Linked DNA regions of Homo sapiens: regions 1, 2, 3, 4, 5 and 7 are each linked to region 6. The links are contacts of gene promoters, found by promoter capture Hi-C in blood cells and fetal thymus (Javierre and others, 2016). All regions are on one chromosome and are shown on one strand. Each heading gives the region's core, a stretch centred on a gene start or on the middle of the fragment in contact. The rest is flanking DNA. Distances are from core to core; before and after follow the strand shown.

Region 1 (3,031 bases), core at 163-2,662, 1.6 Mb before region 6:
GCCATGCCCATCCATTTCCATATTTTTATGACTCCTTTTGTGCTACAGTGGCAGGGTTGAGGAGTTGCAACGGAGACCATCCGGCCCGCAAAGCCCAAAATATTTACTCTCTGGTCCTTTACAGAAAACATTTGCCCACCACTGCTCTAAAAGGCCGTGAGGGAATGATGATCTCAGAGGAGCATAGGATTCTGTTAGCACAGGGAGGTGTGTGTAGGTAGTCCATCTGCTGTGGGAGACGTGATCTGTGCCAGCTAATTCTAAGTTCGTGCTGCTAAAATTTAACCTTGAAAACAAAAGGAGGAGATGAAGTCTGTGTGAAGAGGCTTTTTAATGAAACTTAGCAATGTAAGTTAAGATAGTAACTCATATTCAGAATGGAGACACCGAACCAATGTCCCCCTTCAGCATAGCTTTTAAATCATCAAAGATCAAATCACATTTAGTATGTTTTTTAATTAAGTGAATTATTTGAGTGTGTGCTCGAATTCTTTGGAGACTTTTGTGGCATCTTTATAGCTCTGTGAACTAGAAAGCTCGTCGTACCGTTGCGGCACATAACTGAAAGAATCACATCAGTGGGAATTTAGCTGCTTGATGACATTCATTTTATTTTCTTAATTACCCTGTTTCCCGAGGAAACAGTTTCAAGGAAAAAAGCATGAATTCGAAAATGCATTCGGATCAGTTGCTGTATCTGCTTTGTTCTAGATCACCAGCAAGAGCAAGGAGTCCATATGGGAGTTCATCAAGAGCCTGCTGGATGCCTGGTCGGGATGGGTGGTGATGCTGCTCATCGGCCTGCTGGCGGGTACGTGGATGGGCATGCGGCACTCCCGTGGGAAGCTGCAGAGGCCGAAACCTCAAAACACGAACCCTCTGGGAGATTTGGAATATAGCGCGTGTCGCTTGTCGCTTTTACCCCTGTGGGAGGGATTTATTACTTGAAATATCTAAGGGCAAAATGCATGGCTGTATATTTAACCTAAAATCCATCATCAATAAGGCATGCCCAAGGCATGAGCTCAGGCACAGGCTTCTGAAGAGCTGTGACGATAGAGCTGGTAGCCTTTCCACACAGAGCAGAGTTTTCTTACTATACCGGATTTGACTGAAAACACACATTTTTTTTGGAAACGGTCTTGTTCCATTGCCCAGGCTGGAGGGCAGTGGAATGATGCCAGTTCACTGCAGCCTCCACCTCCCGGGGTTGAACAATCCTCCCACCTCAGCCTCCTGAGTAGCCAGGACCACAGGCATGCGCCACCATGCTCAGCTAATTTTTGTTATTTTTTCATAGAGATGGGGTCTCACTGTGTTGCTCAGGCTGGTCTCAAACTCCTGGGCTCAAGCCATCCTCCTGCCTCAGCCAAAGTGTTGGGATTACAGGTGTGAGCCACTGAGCCCAGCCAAGCACACATTTTATATTCGGTTATTCTTGATTATGTAGATGACAACAAAATCAGGGACTGTTTTATCTTCAATAACAAAATGTCATATGAGATTGCCTTTTGCTACTACTGGTAGGCTCTGGGATGAACTGGAAACATCCTGCAACAGTCAGCACCATGCTAGACACCCACGGGAGCTGAGGCAGGCCCAGGGGCCTCCATCATCCTGACCCTCAGGAACTCTGCATCTTTCCTTTTTAGAATCCCAACACCGTGTTTGCGAGCAGTAGATGTTTCCAGAGTAAATGGATGCTATCTGGAGGGGAAACACGTCTTTTTAATATCAAACGCACCAGCCCTTCCGGGAAATAGTTTCCTGAAACTTATGTCCTTTTAGGAGATTGTGAAGGTTAATGTCTAAGAATAAAAAATTTGGCATGACGAAGAGGTTTCCTTAATAAAAATCCCCTGCATATAACAACATAATAGTTATGGTTAGAGAACAGATCAGGGAATTGACTAGAACACAGGCAGAATATATGTAGTAAGTGGTCTAAGAAGGACAGAACACAAATGGGGCACAGATAGAGTTTTGTGATTCCAGGGGCTTTCAGTTTCCAGGTGATCTTGATTTATTCCCTAGCTCATCGGAGGAGGGGCTTGGTTGCCAGGGAAGGGCTCTACCTCCCTCACCTGCCTCAGCATTCCGTAAAGAGCTAAGAGGAATGCTCAGAGGGGGAGTTCTTTCCTACTAGTCACAGATGCTGTCTGTCCGTTTCTCCAAGCCTGTCCTTCCTTTACCAGTGGCATTTCCCGTCATGTACTGGCAGCAGCCAGGGCAGGAAATTAGACTTCATTGTCACAAGGGATTGGACGACCAATTTTGCTTGACTGCTTCTATAAAGGCCTTTGAAGGTGGGCCAGGTGGGAGTTTGCTATGAATTTTGATGTCCTTATTTAGAGTAGATTGATAAAACCTTATAGTGTGTCATTTTTCTTGGCTCGTAGGAAGGAGAAATAAATAGGGTAAATGAAGAAACTCAGAACAGGAATAGATGTTCTGATAACGGCACAGCTTAGATTCATTGACTGACCTAGGAGCCCAACTGGGCTGACTTTAATCTGATTTTGACCAGCTGGCTTTATTATCCACTTGATTTCCATCAGCTCTTTCACGAGGGGGAATTAAAAACAATATGCTGCTGCCCTGGCTTCACTTAAACAGTATCTCTGGAGAGGACCTCTAGCTTGAATACAGCCTGCCCCTCCCCTCTGTGATTGTAATGTGCAGCCAGGGGTGAGCACCACTGGCCAAAGGAGAGCCCATGCGCACGTCAGCAGGGGAATACATGGGAGGGTGAGAATGGGGTGATGCTGAAAATGAAGGGACTACAGTGTTCTTTTGATTTGGATGCACTTTGAAGGGACAGCCAGAGAGCCACGTCCCACTCACTTCCCCCTTCCTCGCTGGACTAACAGTGGAGAGGACCTGGGGTCTCACTGCCTGGCCGGCTGTCCCCTCAGTGGCTGTTGTCTTCGGACTCCCCTCATGGGTAGGCCCACAGCATCTCCGCATGTGCTTATCAGAAGTCACCGCTAGGTGTCACTGTTGGACCACGAAAGAAAGCTGAGGCCTGCTG
Region 2 (2,834 bases), core at 251-2,750, 1.7 Mb before region 6:
ATTATCTCAGACACATTTTTTCCTGGAGTTATTCCTTTATTCTTCCTGAGAAACTCTAGCCCCAGGCACATTCAGATGAACTATATATGACCATTTGCAGGATCTTTTGGAAGAAATTCTTGCATGGGGTAGGATAATAGTCTAAACCTCAGGTCTGCAAACTATGTCAAGCCTGTGGGCTGGATCCTATCCACTGTGGGTGTTTGTAAATAAAGTTTTATTGGAACACAGCCATGTCCATTTAGTAACCTATTGTCTGTAGCAGCTACAGTGGCAGAATTGAGTATTTGAGACAGATTGTATGGCCCACAAAGTCAAAAATATTTAGGGTCTGGCCCATTAGAGAAAAAGTTTGCTAATTCCTGGTCTATACCCATAGTTCTCAGACCTGGCTGCAAGCTAGAATCTTTAAAAACTTGCTGCTTGGACCTCACCCCAAGAGATTTTGATAGAACTGGCCTTGGGTGGGACCAGGCTTTTTTTTTTAAGCTTCCCAGGTGATCCCCAGGGTTGAAATCCACTGGGCTAGACAGAGTGTGAATGGCCCTTGTAGCAGCAGGAATATGACTTTGTTTATTATCCTAGTTCCTAGGAGTTACTCAAAGTCTACATTGAAAGTCTTTCTGGGTGGCTAGGAAAGAGGCAGCGTTATCTCTGGTGAGAAAGTGCTGATCCACCCTGAGTTCTTGGATTAGGTGGTGGTGAAGCTTGACCTTATCAGCCATCAGCCTTGCCAGCATTCCTTCTGAGGCTCCAAGCCTGTCTCACAATGACTCTTCCATTGGTGCTCTGTTTTTTTTTTTTTGTTTTTTTGTTTTTTTGTTGTTGTTGTTGTTGAGACAGGATCTTGCTCTGTTGCCCAGGCTGGAGTGTGGTAGTGTGATCTTGGCTCACTGCAGCCTCAACCTCCCGGGCTCAGGCGATTCTCCTACCTCAGCCTCTTGAGTAGCTGAAACTCCAGATGTGCGCCACCATACCTAGCTAATTTTGGTACTTTTTGTAGAGATGGGGTTTTGCCATGTTGCCCAGGCTGGTCTCAGACTCCTGGACTCAAGAGATCTGCCCGCCTCTACCTCCCAAAGTGCTGGGATTACAGATATGAGCCACCGCACCCGGCCTCATTGGGGCTCTCGCTGTTGAAGGATTTCTCATTTGCTGTCTTTGGTTAGGAACAGGGCTACAGGCAATCCATTCCAATTCAACCTTTTGTTTTCCTTCACACACGCATGTTGGAGCAGGCAGGAGAAAAAAGGATCATGGAGCATTTTTCCCATGTATTAGTCAGCAAGCCAGATTTTGGAGGTTGCAGCAAAGCACATGTGTTTCCTGAGAAATAATCCCCTAGTCTGTCCTGGAGGGAGAATTCCTGGTTAGGATTTGGTGGCTTCTTGGGTTACTTCTGTAGATCACCCCCAGGTGGCCTTACTTGATTGTTTTTGGTCTTTTGCTTATATTGCCTTAAAAAAAACCCATCCTGCCCGCTTTGTTGGCCTTGCGTATTTCTCCATGTGCCTCTCTGGTAGATAGTACCTGTCAACCTGGAACCTGTCAGGGCTTGTCGGCCTTTTGCCCAGAGTCATTCTTGGCTCCCTTGAGCAACTCCTGACAGTGCTGATCCCTGGAGGCCTACACCTGGTCCTAAGGAGCAACCTGCTCCAGAGGATGTCTTTGAAGAAGGACTGCTGGTCTTTTAAAGCATGTCTTGTCTCTGGGGTGACCTTAGGTACCCATAGCTCAGAAGACGCCTGTACATAAGAGAGACAAAGACAAACAGACTCATGGACACACACATTTCCCCTTTCAGTAATCTGTCAAACTGAAATCCAGAGTTAAGTACTGGGGTTTGCAGCATTTTGAGTCCTAAATACACAGGTCAAGTTCACCTGTTGGGTGGTGGGCACTGGGGAGCTGGAGGACCGTTTCTTCTTCTGGGAAAGCTAGCCCAATTAAAGGATCTTTGGCAGCTGACCCACCGGAGCCCAGATTCTAGACATGAAGCCCTCTATGAATGATGGCATAATGTATTATAGATCAAGTCACTACAGACTCAGTCTTTTAATCTATAAAATGGGCAAGGACACATAAGTATCATTTCACCTTCACAAAGATTTTATGAGAATAGATTAAATAAATGTGAAAGGCACCCTGTAATAGCAAGGTATAATAATTTACATTGCTGTGGTCCAGCTAGGCTATAACCTTGTTATTATATTATCTGAGGCAATGTTGTATGCCTGAGCAGACTCCATATGCTATTTAATAGCTCTGCCCACTTAACTCTTCAAGAGAGAAGAAAGCTTCAGAGGTGAAAGTCTGGTCTTTAGCATAAACCTCGAGATTGGAGACATGTCTTAATAGAGGAAGATACTCCGTTTATAAATGTTGTGGAAGGCCGGGCACGGTGGCTCACTCCTGTAATCCCAGCACTTTGGGAGGCTGAGGCAGGTGGATCACTTGAGGTCTGGAGTTCCAGACCAGTCTGGCCAACGTGGCAAAACCCCATCTCTACTAAAAATACAAAAAATTAGCCGGGTGTGGTGGCGGCGCCTGTAATCCCAGCTACTTGGGAGGCTGAGGCAGGAGGATCGCTTGAACCCAGGAGGTGGAGTTTGCAGTGAGCTGAGATCACACCACTGTGCTCTGGTTTGGGTGACAGAGTGAGACCCTGTCTCCAAAAGAAAAGAAGTGTTGTGTAGTACACGCTATTATGAGGTCTGGAGTCCTGATCTGTTCTTGGACTCTGTAAATGGTTCTAGTAGTCTTATTGGCAGATCTGAGGAACTGAGAATTTTATTTATAAATTTAATTACATTATTAAAAGTTATGCCAGTGTT
Region 3 (2,826 bases), core at 303-2,802, 1.7 Mb before region 6:
ACCCTGCCTGGGTAGTGCCTTCTAAGGTCAAGGCCATGAGGGACTTGCGGAGAGTCCTCATGGTGCTTGTTAAGATGCAGATTACCAGGCCCCACCCTAGACTCACTGAATTAGAATCTCTGGAGGTAGGGCCTAGGAATCTATTTTCAGATGACCTCTCCAGGTTGTGATAAGTAAATGGTTAATTGTTAGATTTTTTTTTTTTTTGGCACACAGGTAGCACTGAGAACAGCTACCATTTATTGAGGTCTCTGCTCAGCTGACATCAAACAAGATGCCCCATGTTTGTTACCCATCGTCAATACCGCAGGCTGAACCATGTGGTGTTCCATGGTGGAGACACAGAGGCTTTACGCCATGAGGCCAAGCAGGGCTGCCTGCCCCGGCCTCTCTGAGGCCACCGTGTGCAGCACCAGGGCCAGCCACTCATTTGCCTTGCTTGAATTCCCACCGTGGAGGCAACAGATAGAATTTCTGGAAGAAGCTTCAGGCTCGAGCACCTTCTTTGACGTCTCCATAGCCTCTCAAACTCTGAGAAGCTCCAGGAAGAGGCACAGGCAGAGTCCTCTTCTATCCAGGTTAAATAAGTTGTTTTGCCTTTCTTATGTGAACTTAACAATATTGGCCCCTCCCAAGAAGGCCTTATCTCAATCTCAAGCCAGTTTTGTGAGTTCTACTGCACTTGGGCATTTTTGGTTCTGGTGTCTGTAGTAAAATTTGCTGAAAGTGAATATATTCAGAAGTCTAAAAGAAATGGTCAAAAATCTGATTTCTGGCTGGGTGCAGTGGCTCATGCTTATAATCTCAGCACTTTGGGGGGCTGAGGCAGGAGGATAGCTTGAGCCCAGAACTTTGAGAAAAGCCCAGGCAACATAGTGAGACCTGGTCTCTACAAAAACAAACAAACAAACAAAAGTTTAGCTGGGTGTGGTGGCATACCTGTAGTCCCAAGTACTCAGGAAGCTGAGGTCGGAGGATCACCTGAGCCAAGGAGGTCGAGGCTACGGTGAGCTATGATTGTGCCACTGCACTCCAGCCTGAGTGATAGAGTGAGACCCTCTCTCAAAAAAAAAAAAAAAAAAAAAAAAAATCAGAATTCTGATTTCTGCTTAAAACTGCCACACAGAGAGATTTCATGTGCCAGAATGCATACTAACTCTAATTTTTGGCAAACCAACATACATATGAGATTACTTTTGACCATGTAGAATTATGACTGAGAAATGAGGTTTATAAAAATACGTAAGCTAAAACAGCAACTCAAAGAACTGAAAAAGAAATACGTAAGCATTGTCTGGGAGCTGTTTTCCCCTTCCCTGTTTTTCCTCTGTAACAATCTCAAGGCAGCATTCATCTCTGTCAGGCTCATTTACATTTTCGATAGAAATACTTATTTTTTTCTTTAGGAAACATGAAGGTTTAAGAACCAGTAAAAATGGTACCATAATTGTCCTCTATTTTATTCACATGCTGCCAGGGGGACTTAGTTGCGATGTGATTTAAATGACTAAGAATTTTATTAGAGGTGCCTGTGATGAAGGGCATTTATGTGAAATCTAACGAGCATGGGGGTGAGGTGGGGCAACTGTTCAGTAATAAATAATGCAGCAGACCTAAAACAAATGAGAGAACCACTTCTGGAGGGAAGAGACACATCACCATCTCCGTTCAAAGAGCTTGTCTCATTGTGTTCCAGAGCCTGGCCAAGCTGACCGATAGCTTCAAGAACAGCTGCTCCGTTACCGACTCTCTAGTGGACTTCCCTCACCATGTAGGCGTGCCTGGCGATGCTGGTGTACCCCAGCAGTTCTGCGATGCCGGCTCCCAGACTGATATCATCGGGGAGGTATATGCGCGCCCAGGGGGAGAAATGCACCGGGAGAGGGGAGGGCTGCTTCAGTGTTGCCATCACTGGTTTGGTGTAATTTTCCATGTTCACTTAAGAAATGCCTTCACTTTTGTGCCATTAAGTTTGAAGAAAAAGTGTTGTGTCTCACATCCAGCTGTGTGATACAATTGAATTGCTTATTACTGCTGCCCTTATGATTTGGACTCTTATAAATGACATACTCCTTGTGAGAGTTGAGTTTCACTGTTCTTTTGACAGACATATCACTTTTTAGAGCATGAGTCCCCACGCTTTTTCTGTGAAGGGCCAGATAGTAAATATAGTCACTATTTTAGGCTTTGCAGGTAGTTCTGCTGGAACTGCCCCACCCTGTCATTGTAGTGTACATGCAGCCATAACAGAGATGCCTTGCAAGCATGTAAGACTGGGGCCTCGAGCTGCTCAAACGTTCACTTACGGAACAGCCAGTGGGCTGGATTTGGCCCCAGGGCCATAGTTACTGATTCCTGCCTTAGACCACTGATTTCCAAAGGCTTTATAGCTGTGCCACCTTGGGTGTTACTTTATTGCTGTTTCTTACTCTTCTAAAAGAATGTCAGGAAATTGAATTGAACTAAAAGTCATTTTTGTTTGAGACTTGGAAGAATGTCATAATGCCTCCTTTGTTAATTAGCGAAGCCTTGAGTTAGCCACAAAAACAAAGTTGGGAAAATCACCATTTGAAGCAGGATGGTGGATATTCAAAGACGCTAGTATTGTAATATCATTGAGTGAAGCTTGACATTAATTTGTTACCAAATGGAAAAACAGTTTAAAGAGCTTCTTTTTTTTTTTTTAAGGATTATTAAGTAAAGATGAGGTATCAATGGAATGCACAGTGCCACCCCTCCCCCGAAATTAAATAAATAAAAGGAAAGCAACAAAAGGAGGAAAAAACAATTGATGGAAAACTCTGGGTTTTAAATAATTAGCTAATT
Region 4 (3,193 bases), core at 530-3,029, 1.6 Mb before region 6:
AGAGTGGCCTGCCTCTCTTCACCGTGGCGTCCCGGGCCACCAGGAACAGCACATGAACGCGGTTTTGGGTGCCTTCCAGCATTTAGGCTTTACACACTTGCCAGTCACGAGTGGCTCCTGAAATTTTCTTTTTATCCATGAGGGGGTGTGAACCTTGGATAAGCAGAAAATAGGTTGTTGTGGAGAAAACCTGTCAGAAAATGGTGAAGGGAAGGCCAGGCTGTGGAGGTGCCAGAAGAGCGAGGGATTTCCCACCTGCACTGTCTTCAGCAGCTGTGATGGCTTGAACTGTGTCCCCAACAAATTCATAGATTCAAGTCCTAACCTTCAGTACTTCAAGACGTGACCTTATTTGGAGATAGGGCCTTGACAGAGGTCATCATGGTGAAACGAAGGCATCAGCAGCGCGCGTCCCTTCATCTCAGACTTCTGGCCTCCGGAACTGGGAGAAAACCCTTTTCTGTTATCTGAGCCACCCAGTCCGTGGTGCTTGGTTACGGCAGCCCTAGCAAGCACGTGCAGCAGCATTTTTTTGTGGATGCATGAGAGCGCGACCCAGGGGCCTTTAATTAAGCTATTCTCACACGGTGTAGGAGAAACGTGGCCCCCAGTGCCCTCTCCATGGAGGCACATGGCTCTGGGTCCTGAGGTGGCAGAGGCCTGCCTGCTGTTGTGGAGAAAGGCCCCTGGGACCTGGGCTGGATCCAGCTGCCCCCTCACTGTGTGTGAGACTTAACCTCTGTGCCGCAGTTTGCTTATCTGTAACTTATCTGTAACGTGGGCCTGAGGGAGGCGGTACTTCATACACGGGGGAAGTGCTTAGAATGAAGCCAGGTACACGGAGCCCTGTACAAAGGCGTTGTGACTATTATTATGGGAAGAAGTCTCTGGGGAAATTCCAAACCCTTGGCTCTTGGCACCAGCAACACAAACACCTCACAGCCCAGCCCTCCTGTCCCTGGGATGGGGGTGTGAGAACACTGAGGCCATTGTGTCACCCGAGGCCACATGTGGTTGGCCTCATCCTATTTCCAACACGTGGGCTGGGTTTCAACGTGGAACGAATGGCTGCATGGCCCTGGGTCCATAGGAAGCCTGCCATGGTCACACAACAGCTGCCTAGTCCTATGGAAGCCAGACTGTGATTGAAGGAACACAGGGAGTGCTGGGGGCAGGGCCGGGGCCGGGGAGGAAGTGGGAGGAGGAAAAAGGAAGTGTCTCCGCTGGTTCGAGGCAGAATTTTGAAACAGGCACAGTTTCTTTCTGAACATCCTTTTGCTCTGAGCTTCCCCCTGTTTGAAACTCCTTGGTCGTGTGGCCCTCCACCCCTCACTGGGGGCCACCACCTGGCTCCCGTCACTGTCAGTGCCTTCCTGTCTTCTCCCCTCTGGTGTTTGGAGGGTTAGCTAGAAGGGGTGGAATGAGTCCTGGCCACCTCATCATCCTAAAGGTGCCCGCATTTTAAAAGCAAGACTCAAAATGATTACAAATGAAAATGAAATTCCTGGGGTTTCAGGCAAGGTGGAATAAGGCAGTGAAAAGCTTTTGTATTGGAGCCAGCCTCCAAGATGGGCCTCGACCATCCTACCTCCAGGTGTTCATGCTCATGTGTGGTCCCCTCCCATATGGAACCATTCAGGGCTGACCTGTGTCACCAATAGGATACCGTGGAAGCGACAGTGTGTGACTTCCAAAGCTAGGTCATTAGAGACCCTCCTGGTTCTCTTGGACCACCCCCTCTAGAGAAAGCCAACTGCCATGTCGTGGGGACATTCAGGGTATCCTGTGGGGATGCCAGCGAGCAAGTTGGTTGCTATGTGAGGGAGCCCCCGTCCAACTTTCAGATGACAGCAGCCCTGGCTGACATCCTGACCACAACCTCCTGAGAGACGCTGAGCCAGAAAGACCCAGCCACACTGCTCCCCACTTCCTGACACATAGAAACCGTGTGAATGGTCAGTGTAAATGGTAATTAGTGATGCAGCTTCAGATAACTGAAATGACTAGTAATGGTCCAAAGCTTTCTTGGAGGGGAGGCCCAGTGCTGGTCTCTCCTTGGGTCAGCTCCCCAGGCTCTGGCCATAGCTGCCTTCGTTTTGCCCCTTCTGAAGCTCCACTTTTCTCTGATCGTTCCATATTTGTTCATGGTATTTTCTCTCTCTTTCCTTCCTAGGTTGGAGAGGAGAGGAGCTTCATGCAAAGTTTAGGTCTATTGATGATAAATTAGGGCATATTGAGGATGAGTTTGGATATATAGATTTTTAGTAAATGGGCAACGGTCTGTATTTCATGAAAATGTATATCCTGTGTATCTCTTTATAGCCTGGAGGCTTCAGTAAAATATTCCCCAAATGCCAGTGGGGTTTGGCTGTCTGGGCGTTACTTTGGGCATTCGGCCTTTGCAGATGCGGGATGTCATTTTTGATGCGAGCAGCCCCCTTTTCCTCCAGCACCAGGGAAACACGCCACAGCCTGTAATGCAATGTGGAGCCCGTGTCCTCTGCCCGCTGCACAGGGGATTTGCCAACTCCAGCGCCTTTGCTTTGTCAGGGCTTTCAGACTTCTGACCTCAATTATTTCAGTGGGAGGTCATTTTTGCAAGAGAGGATGCAATGGGTGTTTGAAAAGAGAAAGTATTTCACGGGCACTTCAAAGAAGTGTTGCAAGCATGCCAATGAAAAACCTCACTTTTGTAAAGTGAAGCAGTGAGATTTAACTCCAGCTGATGGCTTGTTTGGGTTGCCTTTGGTCAACTTTTAATTGAAATCCATGTGCAGAAAAGTGCACAAAAGGTAAGCGTGCAGCTTGATGAATTGTCACAAGGTGAACACACCTGGGTAACAGTGCCCAGATCCAGAAATGGAACATGACCAGTTCCCAGAAGCCACCCTCATGTCCCCTTCCAAGGGTAACTGCTATCCTGAATAACGCCACTGGTTCCTTCTGCTTGTTTGGAACTTTATAGGGATGGAATCTCGGATCCCTTTGTGTCTGCTTTTCTTTGTGTCTTTCTTTTACTTGACATTAGGCTTGTGAGCTTCATTCTTATTATGGGATGGAGTGGTACCTCTTTCCTCCTCATAGCCCTGTATAGCCTAATAGCTTTCTTTGTATGTAAAGTGTCTCTTTTCTGTCACTGCTTTTAAGAGATCTTCTTTTTCACTTGTTTAACAGTTCGATTATGCTATGCCTT
Region 5 (2,917 bases), core at 1-2,500, 2.0 Mb after region 6:
TTACAAGTGTAACCTGTAACAGGTAGTTCAAATTCAATCAAGGTTTAGGTTTTAATAATCGTATGATACATAGATTGTATTGGTGAATTACATTTTTATATTCCCGAATAACTCTGTATCCTGAAACATTACAGTCTCTTGAAAATGTTTGAGAAAATGTTGAGTTTGAGTCGTCTTAAAGGAGCATATTCAAATAATTAATTGAACTGACAATAAGATAGGAGAAGGAAATATTTGTATAATGAACACAGTAAGATTAGGCTTGTTTTATAAATATGGCTTATAGGTTCCTAAATTAATAAGTGGGTTTGTAATACATTTGGATGAAGGACATTGACACCATATAGAAAATACTAGTGTACTGCTTAATAATAGTTTGGGAAATGAAAAATTTTATCTTTAAACTATATTGAAATGTATGAATGTTTAGTTTGGGCAGAAAATACCTATTAGTATGCTTTATATTTGGATTAACAGCCAGGAGTAGGATTAGCTCAACGTGTTTTCATTGAAATATGCATTTCAAAAGCATATTTTACGTTTAAAATATGTAGCTATATCCTGTGTATGTATCCTTTTTTAATTTAAATTATATGGTGAGCATTTCCCTGTTTCCTTAAAAGTTTTTTGAAATCTTCATTTTCAGTGGCAACAGGCTTATCTTTGGATATTTTTGTAATGTATATAGCAGTCCCCTGTTGTTGAATATTTTGGTTATATTCTCCAACAGTCCACAGAGGTGTGATGAAGTGGCAGAATTTTTTCCTATACTTAATATCCCAATCGTAAGCTGCTGAAATGGGCTTCTAGGGAAGTGAAGTTATGAGTCTGCAAGTGGATCTGGCTAACCACCCGTTTCATTTGGAAGCTGGGGAAAGAAAGCTTTTTCTAGAACCCACTGGACTGCTTGTCTCACGGGGTAAGACAAAGTGTGCAGGGGAAGGTTTCTAACTTCTGGCCATGGATCTAGAACCATTATGGAAATAGAAGGAAGGTTTCCAATGAATGTAGCTCATCTGTGTATATCTCTAATGAAACAGTCCTGCTGAAATTTCTTTCCCTTGTGTTTCTTTTTTATTTTTGTTTTTATTTTATGCTAGACACAACTTCGAAACCAGCTAATTCATGAGTTGATGCACCCTGTATTGAGTGGAGAACTGCAGCCTCGGTCCATTTCAGTAGAAGGGAGCTCCCTCTTAATAGGCGCCTCTAACTCTTTAGTGGCAGATCACTTACAAAGATGTGGCTATGAATATTCACTTTCTGTTTTCTTTCCAGAAAGTGGTTTGGCAAAAGAAAAGGTAAAGTCTTTCCTTTTCTGTTTCTGAAGTTTTTATTAACAGGTTCTTCCTCTGCTGACAGTAAAGTGCTGTATGATAGCTAAGTGCTCCTCGACTAGGTCCATTTCTGTTTCCTCTTTGAATTCACATTGTACCTGCACATAATATATTTGTTATATAACAAGTGGGTACTAAATTTGAAATTAATTTCTTGGCGTCTCATTTAGTCTCACATAAAACAGTGATGTATAGAATCTCTAAATGTTTCAGACCTATAATTGATCTATCTATCCTCTATCTTGTCTAATAAGACTCTGCCAATCTGCTGAATGTCTGCTGTAAGCTTGGCACTGTGATAGGCACACTGCAGATGTTTTGTGTGTTACGGATGAGGAACCAGACTCTGGAGAGGTGAATCAATTTGCCCAACATCAAGTAACTTTTAAGTGACAATGCAGGGTGGTAAATCTAGATCTCTAACATGAGCTCTTTTTTTCCTGCACTAGTTTCTTCAGATGTTTCTCTTTGTAATTAGATAAGTGAGAAATACGTAATTTAAAAAATCTGTAAAGTTCTCAAATATTAAAAACACTTGTTTTTTTTTTTTACTACTTTTCTAATTATTTTAACTATATTTCTTCACCATTACTGTTGAACATTAGTACTACTTTATTATTTTAAAGGCAGATACAGCAGACTTTCCCTGTGGATATGTGCGTGTTTTTTTTTTTTTAATAGACTTTATTTTTTCAGAGCAGTTTTGGGTTCACAGCAAAGTTAAGTGGGAAGTACAGAGAATTCCCATATACCTGCTGCCCCTACACACTCATAGCCTCCCCCACTGTCAACATCTTGCATCAAGGTGGTACATTTGCTACAATCTATAAGCCTACCCTGACATGTCATTATCACCCAGAGGCCATAGTTTACAGTGAAGGTTGCAGTGAGCCGAGATCATGCCACTGCACTCCAGCCTGGGTGACAGAGCGAGACTGTCTCAAAAATAAAATAAATTTCACTCTTGGTGGTGTTCATATGTTTTTACTTTCTTTGTGTTTTCTGTAATTATCCAAAAGTTTCATATTCCAAAGTTTTAGTGACACAAGCTTAGTACAGTATTTGAATGAAAACTTAAATAATTTGCATTTCTTCATAAGCAACCAAATTTTATTTGTCAGCATTAGGAATTTATTTATTAATTTATGTTTTTGAGACAGAGTCTTGCTCTGTTACCCAGTCTGGAGTGCAATGGCGCAGTCTTGGCTCACTGCAACCTCTGCCTCCTGTGTTCAAGCAATTCTCCTGCCTCAGCCTCCCAAGTAGCTGGGATTACAGGTGCCCACCACTACACCTGGCTAACTTTTTTATTTTTAGTAGAGAGGAGGTTTCACCATGTTGGCCAGGCTGGTCTCGAATCCTGACCCCAGGTGATCTGCCCACCTCAATCTCCCAAAGAGCTGGGATAACAAGCATGAGCCCTCGTGTCTGGCCTGGAATTCATTTTTGATACATCATTCTCTAACTTTCTAATCACTTTATACTTTTACTTATTGTGTAATAGTCAATAATACAATTATATAGCAGGAATTAATCCTATTCATACAACTTAACGGTTTCTACTAATGTAAAATGCCCAT
Region 6 (3,054 bases), core at 555-3,054:
CATCTAAAATCCTATCCCTGAAAGGGTAGAGCCTGCAGCAGAACTCTCTCCAATCATGGGCAGGAAAAATAAAAAGGTGAATACTTCAGTTACGGTTTACACAGGACGTGCAATTACATGTGCTTCCAAGCCGCCCCTGCCATTTGTGGGGAACACCACCATCTACTGTTCTCATCTCTGATACACCACAACCTGGAGAGGAATCATGGTTCCAGTTCTAGTTTCTGCACCGTATTACCCCAAAGGCCATTTGACCATCTTCCCCCAACCTTTAACTCCTCTGTATAGCCTTATTCTGGCGGATGCAGCTATTACTCACCCAATTCCTTGGGCCAGAAAACCTGGAAGTCTCTCAAGATTCCTCCTTCCCTCTCCTTCACATCCAATTGGCCACTGAGTTTTGTGGGTTCTATTTCCTAAATCAATCTGTTCATTCATTCCATATTATGTGCCACGAATACGCCGTGATGAATTGGATAAGACCCCTACCCCCAGCTTCAAAGAGCTTACTGTCTTAATGAGGTCATTTTGCAAATGAACAACCCATTCTATAGCACAGTGGTACATGCAAGAAAGGGGTTAAGCAGAGTCCTGGGAGGGAACACCTCAGGGCTTTATGATTCATCTTGGGAAGCCTGAGGGCTTTTCTGTTGGCATGCCCACGCTGAAATGTGAAGGATGTATACCAGGAACCTGGTGAAGGAAGCGTGCAGAGGGGAAGCAAATGCAACTTTCTGGAGGCTAGAACAGAGAAGGGGAAGTTCACCAGGTCCGCAGAGATTAGCCTGGAAGCTGGTCTCCAGCCCGGTCCTAATCCAGTAATTACACTGCCCAACGGCTTTCCAAAACTCAAAAGAAAAAGCCCAGCACTGTCCTTCCTGTCCCTGGAAGTTTGTCCTTCAAGTCTCCCATCACTTGTCATTCGCTCATCAAGTATTTACTTAACATCCACTCTGTGCAGGTACCATATTGATAGCGGCCTCAAGGGTGCTTCTATTTAGGGAATTTTTAGTCTATTGGAGCAGATAGACCGTGGGGGGCATTCCGGGGATGCTGGGGGCTGTCAGGCCACGCTAGAAGCTGACACTGAAGACGTCAGCTACTCTTTAAGGACCCATCTGCCTCGCTGCCCACTGCTCAACCCGTCACTGGGGGCTCCAGGCCTGCCACCGGCTTGTCCTCTGAAGGGATAAGCAAGTGTTCTATTCACAGCCCGGAGTGCCCTTCTGCCCTCGCCCGAGGCCACTGCCCGCCTGGGGCCAGCTCCAGCGCTGCGTTCTCCAAGCGTGGCCACACTCATCGGCGCGCTGCTCTGCCAAGGGGGCTGACGCGGCGCGCACGGCCAGGGAGCTCTTGGGGGCAGACGCCGTCCAGCCTCCCGGCCGCCGGGTGCCTACTCCAGACCGGCTCTCTCTCTCCCTAGGCGCCTCCCACGCCCGGGCCGGAGAGCGGGCGCTCGGGGCGACGGACGACCCTGCGCGCACGTGGGCGCAGCCTGGAGGCCGCGGGGACCCTCTCCCATGGGGGCGACGGGAGACGTCCTGCCGGTAGACCTTGGCCAGGGGGTCGCGCTCCCCGCCCGCACCCCTCCCGGAGCCCCGGCGGGGACGTGCGGGGACGCGCCCGGGCGGGAGCGCGCGCGCCAGGCGCCTCCGAGGTCCCGGCAGCGGCTCGGGGCGGGCGGAGGAGGGGCCGAGGGCGGGGCGGCCGCAGCCTCCGCCATTCCCGGCCCCCCCCGGCCACGGCGCACCGCCTCCCCGCCCCCGCCCGCCCTCCCCCACCGCGCGCGCTCCGCCCGCCCCGGAGCCTCGCCCTCCGCCACGATGAGCAAATGAGCGCGAGCGAGGGCATGAAATTTAAATTCCACTCAGGGGAGAAAGTGCTGTGCTTCGAGCCTGACCCCACCAAGGCGCGAGTGCTGTACGATGCCAAGGTGCCGCCGCGGAGGGACAGGGAGGAGGCGCGGGCTGGGGGACCCGGGACCGGGGGCGGGGGCGGGGGCGGACGGCCGCGCGGAGCTGAGGGACCGGCCGGGCTCCTCGGCCTGCGAGGAGCGGTGCGGCCGGCAGGGGGCGCTCACAGGGCGCTACGCCCGGGAGTCGGGGCGGGGTCTGGGATGCTTCCACTTCCTTCCGTCAGGCCGGGCGGCGCACGCGCGGTTGGGAGCCTCGCCCATGCTTTGTCGCGTTACCGGGGCTACCGTTTGCGCCCCCGACTGCAACGGTGGCCGCTGAGGGAGGAGGCTTCTCGAATACGGTTTCTGTCTTCGCGTTAAATGTCTCCTTCTGTGCGGCCTGGTGCCGGGTGGGCTCCTGTGGGACGCCCTGGCCGTCCGATCCAGGTTCTAATTCATAGTTACACGGCGCTGGCCGCTGACTTGCGACGTTGTGTCCCTGGGACCCTAGTCCAGTTTAGGCCCCATCCCGCCTGTAGGCCGTGAACCCCATCCCGAGGGCAAGGTTGGCCCAGTGTTTTCGTACCCCAGGGCCTTGCAGCATTTACGTTTTCAAACTCTGAAGGATTTACGTGGGTCTGACCATAGTTGATGGGAATCGCGCCCCGGGCCGGTCCACCTAAGTCTCCGGGAGCTGAGCCACATCTTGCAGCTCCTCAGATTTGGGTGGCGGGCAGGAGTTGGCACCAGGTCTCCCAGATCCCCAAGGAAAGCACCCAGGTGCTTTCATTTCAGAGACCTGGGTTCCTAGGGCCACCTGGGCGAAGCCTTAGGCGGCAGGGACAGGGGCAGTCCCAGGTGTGTCTTTGGCGATGTCTGGACAGCTCTGTCCATTAGAGATGCTAAAGGACATCCCTAAAGGGATGAGCATATTCTGCCTTCAGTTCCCTCCCCTGCTGCTCCTGTCTTTTAACCGCGTCTGCTATCCCTCTTTCTCCTCGCCCTCCAGCCTCCTCGGGGCGGAGGGGGGGGGGCACGCCCCATCATTAGTTTTAGTTGTTCCCTCTAGGGACACAACAGGGAGGGATTCCAGAGTCTCCAGCTAGCCATCCTGGCACTGGACATAGGGGAGCCCAGGAGACTACAACTCCCAGAGCTCT
Region 7 (3,068 bases), core at 141-2,640, 1.8 Mb before region 6:
CTCTGGTCTACACTGGATATGGCTGCTACAGTTTACGGCATGTACTTGAGAGGTCCAGCATGTCATGCCTGGGGCTCCTGGGTTTGGTGGGATCTCTGGGGGCTTTCATGGCAGGCTTCTGTTTCCTGTGATTTCCCAGCACTGATTGGGACCCTGTGAACAGAGTTCTATAGACTCTGTTCCCTACTGAAGCAGCAGCAGGAGCCTGGGGGCAAGGTTCCAGGCATGTTAGTTTCCTAGCGCCACTGTAACAAAGGACCACAAACTGATGGCTTAAACCTACACAAATGGATTCTCTCACAGTTCTGGAGGCCAGAAGCCTGGAATGCAGGTGTGAGGCAGGGCCACTCTCTCTCCGAAGGCTCCAGGGTAGAATCTGTTCCATGCCTCTCTCCCAGCTTCTGGTGCTTGCCAGAAATCCTTGGCATTCGTTGCCTTGTGGCCTCATTACTCCAATCTCTGCCTCCATTTTTACATGACCCTGGTGTCTGCGTTCCTTCTGCCCTCCCTTATGATATGACACCAGTCATATTAGATTAAAGGCCCACCCTACTCCAGTATGACCTCATCTTAAGTAACTGCATCTACAAATACCCCATTTCCAAATAAAGCCACATCCACATGTACCCAGGGCTAGGCCCTCAGCGTATCCTTTTTTTGGGTGGGGGAGCACAATTCAACCCCCAGCACCAGGGACCCAAGAGAGTCAAGAGCAGTGGAGGTTCTTCCTGCCAACGGGGTCATGCTGACCTCGGGGAAGTACCTGGGCTGGCAGAGAAGGCTTGGGCAGCAAGTAGTTTGATTTGCAGGGACAGAGTCCCATTCTCAAAAACAATCTCCTCTGCTGTCACTGAAAATTGTTGTTTCTTTGGAATTTTCAAAGGTCACCTGACTAGAAGTGAAAGGTATGGACAGAGCCGGCTTCAAAGGCTGCTGCCTGTGCAATTGTACAGGGTACTGTGCTCCAAAGGGCTTGTGCTTATTGTAGTGGTCCACTGTTACCATCTGGAAATTCTTGAGATTTTTTTTTTTTTGGAACAAGGGGTCCTGCGTTTTCATTTTGCACTGCAAAACGTAGAGCACAAACTATGTAGCTGACCCTGGGTTGGGACATCAGGCAGGGGAGACGCATAGTAAGCTAAGGCAAAAATCAAGCTCTGTTACAGTGTGGTTGGCCTGCAGCTGGCTTCTTCTCCATTTCTACTTCTGGGCCAGGGAAGTTGAACTGTATATTACTGTGCAAGCCTAAAGCTGAGTCACAAACAGATCCAGGCTCTTCAATGTGCTTATCATGCAGAGCAAGTGTGAAAGTGGCTTGTGATTACACTTTGCTCAGGGATTGCCATAGGGCTTGGCACCTCTTAAATGATAAATAAACCCCTCTTGATTATGAGGTGAAGTAAGGCAAATACTACCCAGATGGCTCTGTGAATCGATATTGTAAAGTAAGTTTTTGTAGATGCCTACACCCCCACACCATCCTCTTCCATGGGGTGTAATATGATGCTTCTTAAACTAACAGCCCTGGGGTGGACATTTCAATGAGTTCCCCCGTGATGCTGCCGCTGCTGGTCCACGAGCCACACTGTGAGCAGAAAGAGTCCTAGAAACAGGCCAGGTGCAGTGGCTCACGCCTGGAATCCCAGCACATTGGGAGGCCAAGGTGGGCAGATCTCTTGAGTCCAGGAGTTTGAGACCAGCCTGGGCAACATAGTGAGACCCCATTTCTACAAAAAGTTAGAATATTAGCCGAGCATGGTGGCTTGTGCCTGTGGTCTCAGCTACTCTGGAAGCTGAGCGGGGAGGATTGCTTGAGCCCGGGAGATTGAGGCTGCAGTGAGCCATGTTTGCGTCACTGCACTCCAGCCTAGGTGACAAAGTGAGACACTACCTGAAAAAAAAAAGAGAGAGAAAGAAAGAAAGAGTCATAGAAACAAAGAACAACTAGTTATAAAGTCAGGAGGTGTGATGGTTAATTTCATGTGTCAACTTGACTGGGCCACTGGGCCACGGGGTGCCCAGATATTTGGTCAAACATTACTCTGGTTGTGTGTGTGTAAGGGTGTTTCTGGATGACATCCACATTTGAATTGTAGACTGCCTTCTCAGTGTCGGTGGGCCTTGCCCAATCAGTTGAAGGCCTGGCTGGACCACAAAGGCTGGGTAGGAGGGTGCTCTTGCTGTGTGACTGCTTGAGCTGGAATGTTGGGCTTTTCCTGCCTCTGGACTCAAACTGAAACATTGGCTCCTCTTGGATCTCAAGCCTGCTCACTTTCAGACTGGAACTGACACCATCAGCTCTCCTGGTTTTCAGGTTGTCAGACTTGGACTGGAACTGTGCCATCATCAGCTCTCCAGCTTGCCAACTGCAGATCCTGGGATTTGTCAGCCTCCATAATTCCATGAGCCAATTCTTTATGATAAATATCTCTCTCTGTCTGCCTCTTTCTCTCTCTCTCTCTCTCTCTCTCTCTGTGTGTGTGTGTGTGTGTGTGAGAGAGAGAGAGAGAGAGAGAGAGAGAGTTTGGATATATATATATTGGAGCTATTTGTCTATACATCCCTGATGAATACAGGAGGTCAGATGGGATAGCTGGGCTTTAGTCTTAGGGCTGATGCATTTTAGCACTGGCCAGGTCATACCAGGCTAGTTACTTACATTCTCTGAGCCTTGTTTTCCCACTATAAAGTTTGGGCAGTATAAATGTTCTCATAAATTACACATTTGAGCCCAGGAGTTTGAGACAAGCCTGGGCAACATAGTGAGACTCCTTTTCTACAAATATATATATAAACCGGGTGTGGTGGTGCATGCCCGTAGTCCCAGCTACTCAGGAGACTGAGGTGGGAGAATCACTTGAGCCTGGGAGTTGGAGGCTGCAGAGAGCCGTGATCGCAGCACTGCACTCCAGCCTGGATAACAGAGTGAGGCCCTGTCTCAAAAAAATAATAACAATACATTATACATATCTCATAGGGTTTTTTTGACCTCAGCACTGGTGTCATTTGGGGCAGATCATTCTCTGGTGCTGGGCTGTTGTGGGCACTGCAGGATGTGTGCCAGCATC

The links. The method cuts DNA at HindIII sites, captures the fragments that hold promoters and counts their contacts. A CHiCAGO score of 5 or more calls a contact.
Region 1: a contact is called between a fragment that was not itself captured here and the fragment with the promoter of MSL3 in region 6, in 2 of 17 cell types (neutrophils and monocytes). The highest score is 13.9, in neutrophils.
Region 2: a fragment that was not itself captured here is called in contact with the fragment with the promoter of MSL3 in region 6 in 1 of 17 cell types (non-activated CD4 T cells); the score reaches 8.6 in non-activated CD4 T cells.
Region 3: a contact is called between a fragment that was not itself captured here and the fragment with the promoter of MSL3 in region 6, in 2 of 17 cell types (non-activated CD4 T cells and activated CD4 T cells). The highest score is 8.6, in non-activated CD4 T cells.
Region 4: a contact is called between a fragment that was not itself captured here and the fragment with the promoter of MSL3 in region 6, in 1 of 17 cell types (monocytes). The highest score is 5.4, in monocytes.
Region 5: a contact is called between a fragment that was not itself captured here and the fragment with the promoter of MSL3 in region 6, in 1 of 17 cell types (non-activated CD4 T cells). The highest score is 6.7, in non-activated CD4 T cells.
Region 7: a fragment that was not itself captured here is called in contact with the fragment with the promoter of MSL3 in region 6 in 1 of 17 cell types (activated CD4 T cells); the score reaches 6.1 in activated CD4 T cells.

The regions. Positions count from the first base shown.
Region 1 is chrX:10,186,804-10,189,834 of GRCh38, forward strand. It overlaps CLCN4 (chloride voltage-gated channel 4), which reads left to right. Exons shown (of 13, transcript NM_001830.4): 4 at 712-811. Among named protein-coding and RNA genes, the nearest start is that of CLCN4, 31 kb to the left of the region's middle. RefSeq lists a silencer at 2,948-3,031. The HindIII fragment of the contact is 3,850 bases long and covers 1-3,031 here.
Region 2 is chrX:10,073,189-10,076,022 of GRCh38, forward strand. All of the region lies in intron 4 of WWC3 (WWC family member 3), which reads left to right. Among named protein-coding and RNA genes, the nearest start is that of WWC3, 59 kb to the left of the region's middle. The HindIII fragment of the contact is 1,590 bases long and covers 706-2,295 here.
Region 3 is chrX:10,092,436-10,095,261 of GRCh38, forward strand. It overlaps WWC3 (WWC family member 3), which reads left to right. Exons shown (of 24, transcript NM_015691.5): 8 at 1,697-1,846. Among named protein-coding and RNA genes, the nearest start is that of CLCN4, 63 kb to the right of the region's middle. The HindIII fragment of the contact is 2,141 bases long and covers 483-2,623 here.
Region 4 is chrX:10,165,872-10,169,064 of GRCh38, forward strand. All of the region lies in intron 2 of CLCN4 (chloride voltage-gated channel 4), which reads left to right. Among named protein-coding and RNA genes, the nearest start is that of CLCN4, 10 kb to the left of the region's middle. The HindIII fragment of the contact is 478 bases long and covers 1,541-2,018 here.
Region 5 is chrX:13,735,378-13,738,294 of GRCh38, forward strand. OFD1 (OFD1 centriole and centriolar satellite protein) reads left to right here. Exons shown (of 23, transcript NM_003611.3): 3 at 1,101-1,301. Among named protein-coding and RNA genes, the nearest start is that of OFD1, 2.1 kb to the left of the region's middle. RefSeq lists an enhancer at 1-284. The HindIII fragment of the contact is 741 bases long and covers 881-1,621 here.
Region 6 is chrX:11,756,433-11,759,486 of GRCh38, forward strand. MSL3 (MSL complex subunit 3) reads left to right here and starts at 1,805. Exons shown (of 13, transcript NM_078629.4): 1 at 1,805-1,933. The coding sequence starts at 1,832. It overlaps MSL3-DT (MSL3 divergent transcript), which reads right to left and starts at 1,651. Exons shown (of 2, transcript XR_007068393.1): 1 at 320-1,651. RefSeq lists silencers at 1,345-1,544, 1,565-1,714, 1,725-2,104 and an enhancer at 1,958-2,252. The HindIII fragment of the contact is 7,532 bases long and covers 1-3,054 here.
Region 7 is chrX:10,006,563-10,009,630 of GRCh38, forward strand. No RefSeq gene overlaps it. Among named protein-coding and RNA genes, the nearest start is that of WWC3, 7.2 kb to the right of the region's middle. The HindIII fragment of the contact is 6,322 bases long and covers 1-3,068 here.